Linked DNA regions of Homo sapiens: region 2 is linked to region 1. Evidence: promoter capture Hi-C in human tissues and cell types (Jung and others, 2019). All regions are on one chromosome and are shown on one strand. The core of a region is centred on a gene start or on the middle of the fragment in contact, and the rest is flanking DNA. Distances in the headings are between cores, read along the strand shown. Region 1 holds the start of GLRB (glycine receptor beta). Region 2 has its middle 24 kb from the start of CTSO.

Region 1 (5,582 bases), core at 372-2,871:
GCACATAGAAAACAAGACCGCCAACGAGATATAATAGGTTACTGTATAAAATTTCTGATTCTATAGCTACACAAAATTATAAATTGATATTGAATTGCACAGTATATCAAAAATATGTTCAGAAAGATATCTGGAAGCATGGTTTAACACAGCGTTAAAATGATTATCTTCGGCTAGTACTTTGGAAGTATCTTTTTCTTTTTAAATTTTTATATTGTTTGAAGTTCTTATGTATATTTTTTCAAAAATAATGTATTTTAAAGAAAAAGAAATTCTAAGTATTAAAAAAGACAGATAAAAGAAAAAGTTAATATCAAAGAGTTCCACATTCAAAATTCATTGCTTTTTTTATTTAAACACATTACATTGGCAAGCTACCTTTTTGCCCCAAAAAGGTGCCTCTTAAGTTAGCTTTAAAGCTTTCTTACTTATTTGCTACTAACATTTGTCATCAAAAAGATTACTTCAGAAATTCTACAACAAGAAATAAAACAAGTGTTGTTACATTTTTTTCAAATTATCGTCCTAGCCATATTTTAATAACATTTTCATGCTCAAATCAGAACCATATTCTTGCCAGAGATTCTGATAAATAAAAAATAATTAAGCCTCTACCTACACTAGAGAAGTTCAAACTCTTCTGCAACCTTCATTTCCAAACCATAAATTGTTTCTCTTTCATTGTTTTCCGCAGAGTAAAAGACCTGTCATATTCTTCAACGCTAACTTAATTCCCATCTCACCCTCAGAAATTTGCTTCTCCTTATGTCATGTTTTTCATCTTCCCCCCCCCCCCCCAGGATTCTTCCCCCCATATTTATCTTTTACACACACTCCAGGCAAGCCAGAGGGGCTTCTCCCTGGGTACTTTAAATTGAAGACAACAGAGGGGGCTCATCAGACCAACAGCAACAACACAAGGTTCTCCTCTGGCAACTTCACAACATTGGACGCTCCCTTCCCCCATCCGACAGCGGCACCTGCTTCCAGACACCTTGCCCACAGCAGCAGGTACTTCTCCCACTTTCACATCCTTGCCCCCGCAAAAAGGAGGGCCGAGCCCCCCTAACGCTTCGAAAAACAGAGAAATTCACCACTCTGCTCTGTCCTCACCCCCAATCTTTCAAGGGGGACAGCTGCATTGACTGGAGGATCCTCATAAACAAAACAACGCAAGGAGCCCTCCTGGCCAACCTTGCGTTTCCTAATTACCCCGGCCCTCTGCATCTCTCCACCCGGAGCGTCTCCGCGGGCGCCACCGCAGCGGGGACCCGGCTGCCGCTGCCAGGCGCCCCGCGCCCCTCTCCCGCGCAGGGCAGCGCGCGTCCTCCCGGGCACGCCGCAGTGCTCCTCGCGCTCCGCCGCCCCGGGCTTGACCCGCTGTTTCCGCAAAGGCGTCTATTCCCGTCCTCAGACCACCGTCGCCGCCCCAACCCGCGTCCCCTCCTCCTAAGTGGAGCTCCTGGCACTTACCCGGAGGCGCCCCTGCCCACAATCGCCGGGCGAGATCGTGGAGGCTCCGGGCCCAGGTGGCAGTGGCTGCTAAGGGTGCAGCGGGCGCCGAGCGGGGGCAGCTGCGTCCCAGCCGCCCGCGCCACCGCCGAGCTCGGCTGACGCGCCTGCTCGGGCCGCGGAGCCTGCGCCGTGGCGCGCCGCGGTCGGGGCCGCAGCGGGGACAGCGCGGGCCGCGGGGGAACCTGGCGACCGCGGGCGGGGGAGGGAAGAGGTGTCCCGACAGAGCAACGTCACGGCATCGTCCCCTTCAGGCATTGGAGGGGTTACCGAGCAGAAATGTGTACCCCCCTCACTCCTTAGGGGACTAAAGGAGTTGGGGACGAAGGGCGGGAATGATAGTGTCGGTACAAAAAGAAAAAACCTTTCAAGGAGCTGGGATTGCTTGGGGTCAGCTTTTGACCACTAGCAACAAACAACAGAGCAACAAATGACCTTCTTGGGTCAAAGCGAACAAAACACATTTTCTGTCATTTCACCATTTGCCTGGAACCCAGACATCCAGCTTAATCTCCGGGTCTTCCAATTTCTAAAAGCCTGAACTTTCTGAGCAAGCTTAAATTGGTCAAAATTACTGACAATATAGTCATACAGGTAATACTATGTTTAACATCTGTTACATAATTAACATGTGTACAGAACTTGACAGTTGCAAAACACCTTTCACTCGCCTTATCTCATGTGGCCCTCACCACATTCCTGGGCAAGTTTTGTCATCCCCTTCTGTAGATGAAGAATCTGAAACTCAGTTATATTAAGAGATTTACTTAGAGTTACAGATCTTGAAAGAAATTTACCAGAGATTCAAAATTAGTGATTTTTGCATATCTGAACCAGACAGGGTCTCTGCCTTATAAGAGCAAAATACTGTTGTCCTCATCCTTGTGAAGAAGTAGCCCTTACTTGGATATGCAGCCCTTAGATAACAGATAAGGCTATCCTATTACCTCTTGAATGTATGCCTGATTGATTTTTTTTAATTGTTATTTTTTAAGCAACAGGAGCTCACTTTGTTGCCCAGGCTGGAGTGCAGAGGCACAGTCATCGCTCACCGCAGTCTTGAACTTCTGGGCAATCAAGAGATCCTCTTGTCTCGGTCTCCCTAGTAGAGTAGCTGGAACAACAGACAGGCCATTGCGCTCCACTAATTATTATTATTATTTTTTAAGAGACAGCATCTCTGGCTTTGTTGTCCAGGATGGTCTCCAACTCTGGCCTGAAGCCATCCGCCTGCCTTAGCCTCCCAAGCTGGGGGGCTTACAGGCTTGAGCCACCCCACCCCACTGCACCAGGTCCTGATGGATTTTTTTTATTAAAAAAGCATTGTCTCAAGTGAGCATCACTTAGCATTGTATTGTGGACCCACAGATGTATCCACTAATAAATTTTTCCACCCGCAGCATATGGAGGGAAGGAATATTTCCTGCATATAACCGTGTTCCATAAGCTTCATGAGATATTCTGCTGCCTAAGAGTAGTGATCATTAATAAGTGATCATTACCTTATTTACATTACAAAATGATCATTATTCAAAGAGCTGTACTGTTTGAAGACCCCCCCGCCAAAGTGGATCAGGATATAACTTTGGATTTTAATGCTTTATTAGAGAGAACTATATTGATAATATACGTTTCATAAGATATAACTTTTGGTGAATAGGTCATATGAAGAATGATAAAGGAATTAGTTTTCATGCAGCCAGGGGAGTTTAGAAGTTGGCGAAAACCTTACACTTAGTTTTCAATTAATCAAGAAATTATTAAGAGTTTAGAATAATAGGAATTCCGATTCCTGTAATAAAATGAACATCTTTTATTTACAAACTCTAATGTCCACATTTGGAAGAACTATGCTGAAAATACCTACAACAGACTTGCTCACCTTCCCTAGTATTGTTTCTGTGCCATCCATGGATGTTATATTGGAGAATTAGGTTATTCAGAAGAAAAGCAAGTCCAGCAGGTTGGATGGGTTTGTAGGGTTTTGGCCCAAAGGTTAAGAAATATAGTTGATGCCCTAAAAGCACTTCTTCTAGCCTGTAAAATGGTCAAGTTCAGAATTCTGAAAATTTTTTTCTATGAAAGTGATCTGCTTACCTATATTTCTATAACTTTTATATCATAGTGTGAAAAGGGATGCTTCTAAATAATGTCATGAAATAACCTATTTTCCCCAATTCTGTCAAGTGTTGATCTACTTTTCTCTATTTATTTCTATCAATATTCACTCCTTTAGTAATTTCATCTGGTCACAAGGTTTTAAACACCATGTTGATAGCTCCCATATGTACTTCTCCTGACTAGACATCTCTCCAGAACTCCAGACTCATCTATCTAACTGCCTTTTCAACATTTCAACTTGCGTATTTAATAAACATGTCAAACTCAGTGTGTCCCAAACTGAGCTATGGTTCTCCCTAAAATCTGCCCCACATTCAGCCTTCTCCTTCTCAGTTCACGGCAACCTCATCCTTAGGGTTGGTCAGGCTAAAAATCATGAAGTTGTTCTTGATTCCGCTCTTTTTCTCACACCTCACAACCAAATCTCTGAGGAAATCCTGTTTACTCTCAAATGACAACAGGAATTCAGCTACTTCTTATGATTTTTACTGCAGCCAACCTAGACTCAGTGACTTTCATCTCTACGTTAGATTACTATAATAGCACTTTAGCTACTCACCCTGCCTCTATCATTGTCCTCTCCTACCCTTGAGTAATCTCAAAACAGTAGCCAGAGTGATCCCTTTAAAACATGTCATAGGTCATATTGTGTCATTCCTCAACTCAACACCCAGCAGTTAGTCCCCATTTTATAAACCAGTGTTTACAATGGTCTACAAACCTTCAATTGTTATGCATCTCCTCCCCCTAACTCTGACTTCTTCTCTCCTAATGGCTCGCTCTCTTTCAGCCCTGCTGATCTTGCTGCTTCTCCAACATGCCAAAGCCAGGTATGGTCCCATCTTAGGTTATTGGCTCCTCTGTCTAAAATGCTTTCCCCCCAGACCACCACATGACTGACTCCCTCATATCTTCAACATCAACCCAGATGTCACCGTCTCACAGAGATTTATCCAATGTTATTTAAAAGTGCAAACCATCTCCCATCCAAAGATTTCCAATCCCCCTTTGCCTGCTTTTCTTTTTGTTTTCATAGTACTTATTACCTCCCAACTCATCATACAATATACTTACAGTTTGTGGCCTCTGTTTCCTTGCTAAAATGTAGGCTTCATGAAGGCAGAGATTTGTATCTATTTTTGTCCATTGATGTTGCCCACACACCTAGAATAGTGTTGAATGAATGTGTAAATCTTGGCCTCATTTATTAATTTCTTCAAATTTCATGTTTCTTTATTAGTAAAATGAAAATGACAATGCATAATTTGCAGGATTGTACCAAGAAATAAACAGGTTAATTGACGTTAAAAATCTGCTGCAGAGAAGAAAAGTCACAAAGAATTAACCTCCCCTATTTTTGCTTGTTTTTATTTGCTTAATGGAATGATAGAATTTTGTTGTGGCTGTTTTTTTTTTAATTATTTTTAATTTTTGTGGGTACATGCATTTTTTGCTTACTGGGACCCTGTTATCCATTTCTTTCTTGTACGTCTACACTGAGAACATTTTGTAGGCCTACATCTAAACACTAAAAACCTTCTAACCTTCTTTTCTTTCTTTTTTCTTTTTTTTTTTCTTTTTGAAACAGGGTCTGGCTCTGTCGCCCCGGTTGGAGTACAGTGGCATGATCTTGATTCACTGCAACCTCCTCCTCTCATGCTCAAGCAAACTTCCTACCTCAGACTCCTGGGTAGCTAAGGACTCTATTTTCTATGCATCCATCTTCACCTGGCCTATAATATATTTATTTTATTTGACTTGATAATAAAACCTAAATACAGCCCTAAATATCTTCTGTTATACTAAGAAATCAAACTTTGGATACAGAGAGAGTATTCTCACCAAATCATTTTTTGTGTGTGACATAAGTACTCATCACTGTTGCCATTGCCTAAATAGCCTTACAACATGGTTTAAAGATATAAATTATTTTTTTCTGTATTCTCTCT
Region 2 (5,582 bases), core at 1,914-4,413, 1.1 Mb after region 1:
ATCATTTAAAAATTAGGCAAAGGAAGGAAGAAGGTGACAGCTTCATGGTTTTGGAAGGTCCCTAACTCTCCCACAAAAACAAATACAGCAAAAGAGAGGAGGAAAAAAGCCCACAGAAAAAATACATGTAGGAAAGACAAATGACAACGTATCGCCCAAGACTTCCAAAACACATGTGCATGCGGTCAAGCCACCGGAAACAAAATGATCCACTGGTTATCAGTAACCATGTGAAAAAACGTAGGGGAACAGCCAATACACATCAAAGAGTTCTAGGACCTATGGGGGAAAAAATCACAAATAGGTAGCAATCCTCAAATTTAGGGGTGTCCACTTAGCGTGGAAAGTTCAATTGGCTAATCTGAAAACTACAGCCAAATCTGCAACTAGTCTTCACTTATGGGATGTGCAAGGGAAACTCACAAAGTTTGGAAGAGTCTGGACCCTATAAACTAACCAATCTAAGCAAGATGCTCTTAGGGAAAATAACCCCATAAAACAGTAAGGAAAGAAAAACAACATTAACCAAAAGAAAGAAGAAGAGAACGATTTATAAGTTAAAAGTAGTAATGAATGAGTTTGAAAATAAAACAAAAACAGAAAATAGGTGAATATATCTAACTCCGATTCTACAAAAAAAAAAAAAGAAAGAAAACCCAAACAGAAAAACCACCAGCCAATCTAATCAAGCAAAAATGAGGAAAACACAAGTACACAAAATCACAAGAAAACCGTGAAATTGAAGAAATGTATGGAATGATACTACTTTTTATTAGGTTATGCAAATGAATCAAACATGAAATATATGATTTTTTGGAAAACACATTCTTAAAACATTTATAGTATACATGGCGTAGTGGGATGCACCATTAGGTTCTTTATTCTATTATGGATGCACACAGGCATACACACACAAGGGCACACATGCACACACACAAGTGCACACACACACACACACACACACACAATGGTGCAATCCTGAAGGCAGAAACCTGAATCTTTCACGTTTTCTGTAATGTATTCTTCATTAGGTGGAAAAAAAGTCAAACAATAATTTCCAGAGTTGTATGGGAAATTTTTTGTCCTACACAAGAAAGAAAATCTGTTTTCAATTGGAACTTTAAGCAGAAAGGGCCCCAGTTGCTTTAAGCTCCCCTTCTCATTACCACATAATAAAAAGAATTCTTATCTCTAGCAGAAAAAACGCAGTCACAGAAGAAAACACAGGAAGAGGGATGTTCAGGGTGTAGAGGGAGAAAGCTATAGTATCACTTAATTGTAGTACTTTATAAGCAAAGGAGAGCAAATAAAAATCTTCCTCAGTAATCAAGAGACTCACCTAACACAGAAGGACTCCCACAGACTTAAGGTAAAGGGGTGGAAAAAGACATTTTAGACAAACGGACACCAAAAATGAACAGGAGTAGCTATTCTTATATCAGACCAAACAAACTTTAAAGCAACAGCAGTTAAAAAAGACAAAAAGGGACATTATATAATGATAAAAGGCCTTTTCCAACAGGAAAATATCACAACGGTAAGCATAAATGCACCTAACACTAGAACTCCCAAATTTATAAAACAATTACTAATAGACCTAAGAAATGAGATAGACAGCAACACAATAATAGTGGGGAACTTCCATACTCCACTGACAGCACTAGACACATCATCAAGACAGAAAGTCAACAAAGAAACAACGCATTTAAACTATATCTTGGAACAAATGGACTTAACAGTTATATACAGAATGTTCTATCCAACAACCACAGAATACACATTCTATTCAACAGCACATAGAACTTTCTCCAAGATAGACCATATGATAGGCCACAAAACGAGCTTCAATAAACTTAAGAATATTGAAATTATTTCAAGCACTCCTCAGACCACAGTGGAATAAAACTGGAAATCACCTCCGAAAGGAACCTTCAAAAACATGCAAATATATGGAAACTAAATTACCTGCTCCTGAATGATCATAGGGTCAAAAATGAAATCAAATGAAAGTCAGCGCCTGGCCGACTTTTTTATCTGTGTGGCTGTGGGCATGTCTTAGGGAAGACGCCTGTGCAATTTCCCTTATCTGTGCCACAGGGTGTTCTTTTGTTTGAAAGAATCTAACTGAGGACCCACCCTAACTGCCTACCGGACAGGTTTCTTCCTTTCTCCTCTCCCATCCATATATTATTTGCTATATAACAAAATTAAATATATTTCACTTAAGTCTTACAAAATTTAAAGAGTACAGAAATTAGGTTCTAAAGACTTCATGAAACTAAGTAAATCACCACATGAATTTTGTTCAAATACCATTATCTGATTCAATTTGTGAGCCTGGATATATTTTTCAAATAACACTTTTTTTTTTTTTTTTTGAGCTAGAGTCTCACTCTGTTGTCCAGGCTGGAGATGGGGTTTCACCATATTAACCAGGATGGTCTCCATCTCCCAACCTCGTGATCCACCAGCCTTGGCCTCCCAAAGTGCTGGGATTATAGGTGTGAGCCACCACGCCCAACCACATGTTCTTTAATAAATAAAGTTTGTATAGAACTTTAATGGTTGCAAAATGCTTTTATGAACTCTGAAAGGAAGAGTGATGTTACTATTTAGTATTAGAAAACAAGTGACTTGCCCAATATATCTTGTCTAGTTTACATTTCCATTTACAAACGGACTGTTTTCTACATCTTTTCATGGTATGTCTGCTTTTTAAATTTAAGACAAGTTGATGTGTTATATGAGATTATTTCAGGTTATTCAGGCTATTTTATACCTGTGGCCATTGCTACATAAGTGCCACTTGAGTTCCCCATCACTGAAGCAGCAACACAAGCACACGCCCATTTATCTAAAAAGCCCCTGGTGAAACCACCTTCACAAAAATTATAACAGAAAATTGTGACAGTGAACGAGATCAGACTTAACCAACTCCATCTTGCTTCTAACCTTAAGCTATCCTTGTTCATTCTTGGGTGTAGGCTAAACTAACCTTGGAAAGGAATTTAGTTTACGATTTGACTCTGAAACAAAACTGATAATAGCTCTTTCCCAAAAAGACCACCTTCTTGCCTGGGGACCAGTCTGCCTTTGCAGGAATAACAAATTAACTACAAGATTAGAAATTATGGTTTAGGGGTCATGCAGCCTTTGGCTGCAAGAGTCTGAACCTCCCAAAAATTATTCCTGGGGATAACATCACTGTTGTAAAACCTGAAATCAGTGCTTGAGATATTTTGCATATCCTGGACTCGATGGATCAGCTGATGCTACCCAGACTGGTAATCTGGTTCAACCAGTTCTGTAATCCCACCCACGGAACAGAAGACAGCAAGAAAACTTCACTTTGACCCCACTGTGATTCCATCTTCAATCCACCAATCAGCACTCCCCACCCCACTTCCCGAGCTTCTTCTCCCCAAATTATCTTGAAAAACTCTGATCCCTGAATGCTCAGGGAGACTAATTTGAGTACTAATAAAACTCCTCCGGTCTCCCGCACAGCTGGTTCTGTGTGAATTACTCTCTCTCCATTGCATTTCCCCTGTCTTGATAAATCGGCTCTGTCAAGGCAGCGGGCAAGGTGAACCCATTGAACGGTTACACTAGGAAGCATCTTGCTCCTAGCTGACAGCCTCTGACTTGGGAATTCTGGTGCTCAACACAAGCTCTGAAAATTTGTTTTATATCTTTCTATAATAAGAGCTGAATTAATGAAGAACTTAGTTCATGATTATTTGGTGATTAAAATTTTTAATTGTCGGCCAGGCGCAGTGGCTTGCACCTGTAATTCCAGCATTTTGGCAGGCCCAGGCAGGCAGATCACCTGAAGTGAGGAGTTTGAGAGCCACCTGGCCAACATGACGAAACCGTCTCTACTAAAAACACAAAAATTAGCCAGGCTTGGTGGTGGGCACCTGTAATCTCAGCTACTCAGGAGGCTGAGGCAGGAGAACCGCTTGAATCCGGGAGAAGGAGGTTGCAGTGAGCCGAGATCAGGCCACTGCACTCCAGCCTGGGCAATAGAGGAAGACCCTGTCTCAAAAAAAAAAAACAACAACAAAAAAAGGAATTAACCATTTGTTACTAGGGATAAAATTGACCAAAGAAAAAGAAGCTAAGTATCTTCTTTAAAACTGCATTTAAAAGGTGGTAAAATTCACATAGCCATAGATAATGATGTGACTTTTGAACAAAGCCTCCTGAATTATGAAACACTCTGATCATTTATTAATATTTAATCCATTTTTATTTAGAATAAAACATGTATATATCATAAATAAAATTAGGTTTATAAAAATATCTTAAAAATGGCTTTAAGCTTATCATTTTCATAATTAAAATTGTTTTTAATTTGCAAAACAGGATTTTCTGTCTTCTAGTGTAGGGAAGTTTAAACTTTCCCTCTGAAGGAATAATGAGGTCTGCTGAAATAAAATAGCAATAAACAGATTAGCAGGAGAAAAAACATGTTAGTTACATGCATGCACACAGGAACCTCACAGAAGAATACGAGACTCAAAGGACCAGAGGATTGAAGTTTCTAAGCATAAAGGAATAGCGGCTTGAGCTTTGGAGGGAGGTGGCAACAAGTTGTGAGAGGAAGAGGGGAGGCACTGCAGGGGAACACTGGTTGTCTTACTATGCAAATAAAGACTCTCAGGTGATAAAACTTGTTTGAGGGCAGCCTCCCGGGGAATAAGTGATAGCCAGTCCGGGTGCAGGGATGACTTTTAATCTCCTCTCTGTGATTAATATTCCCTGGGTTTTGGATGAGATTCTTAGGGAGGGGTTCCAGACAATTGCATTCCTTTTGGAAGAACTTCCCTGCGTCAGATAATAGAACTTCAGAGAAAGCCCCTCCCACACTTGTGGAGGAGAAACAAGGGAAAGTCAGAGAGACCTTGATTGTGAGGCAGCTTCTAAGACCTTCCAATTTCCTTTAATTCAAAGCACTCAGAATGCCAAAGCAACATACCTTAAGGTATCATTTTCTGAGCCCCAACACTATTGACTGACTAAACACTAGTCATGTGTTTTGACCTATGGGATCTTGGCTAATTAACTTTCATAAGGAGCTACTGAGTTTATATAAGAATAACATCTTACATAATATTTCAGAATCAGAAAATTGTAAGACATTTACAGGAATCATGTTTACTTTTTCTTCATATTTAGGAAATGGTACCATCTCAACTTAGCATTATAAGAAGTGCTAAAGTATTCTGATTGCTTCAAGTTGGGTTTTATGGGAAGCTGATAATTGTTCAGGATGTTTACTAGAGGAGTGTTCCTGAAATTGGCACCTGTAGAAGAGGGGAAAAAGAAGCCAGATTAGGCAGAGAAGTTGAGCTGAAATGCAGACCAAACAAAAGCCACAGTTGACCTTATATGGAGCTTTAGGACTAAGAAGGATTTTCAAAGAATCCATGTGTAGATCAGTCATGGAATGCAGAATGTCCCTGAAGTACTTAAGACCCAGGACAACACAGTGTTCTTCAACTGAAGCATATGTGGAGACTGATGCCTCGCGGGCATCTTTAGGTTGCACTCCTATCTGCTTAGGGAACAAACCCTTC

The links. The method cuts DNA at HindIII sites, captures the fragments that hold promoters and counts their contacts. A contact is called where the count stands out against the background at its distance.
Region 2: a fragment that was not itself captured here is called in contact with the fragment with the promoter of GLRB in region 1 in 1 of the 25 tissues and cell types used here (lymphoblastoid cells).

Annotation. Positions count from the first base shown.
Region 1 is chr4:157,072,189-157,077,770 of GRCh38, reverse strand. GLRB (glycine receptor beta) reads right to left here and starts at 1,621. Exons shown (of 10, transcript NM_000824.5): 1 at 1,474-1,621. RefSeq lists a silencer at 4,220-4,514. The HindIII fragment of the contact is 3,601 bases long and covers 1-2,513 here.
Region 2 is chr4:155,975,562-155,981,143 of GRCh38, reverse strand. No RefSeq gene overlaps it. Among named protein-coding and RNA genes, the nearest start is that of CTSO, 24 kb to the right of the region's middle. The HindIII fragment of the contact is 6,587 bases long and covers 1-5,582 here.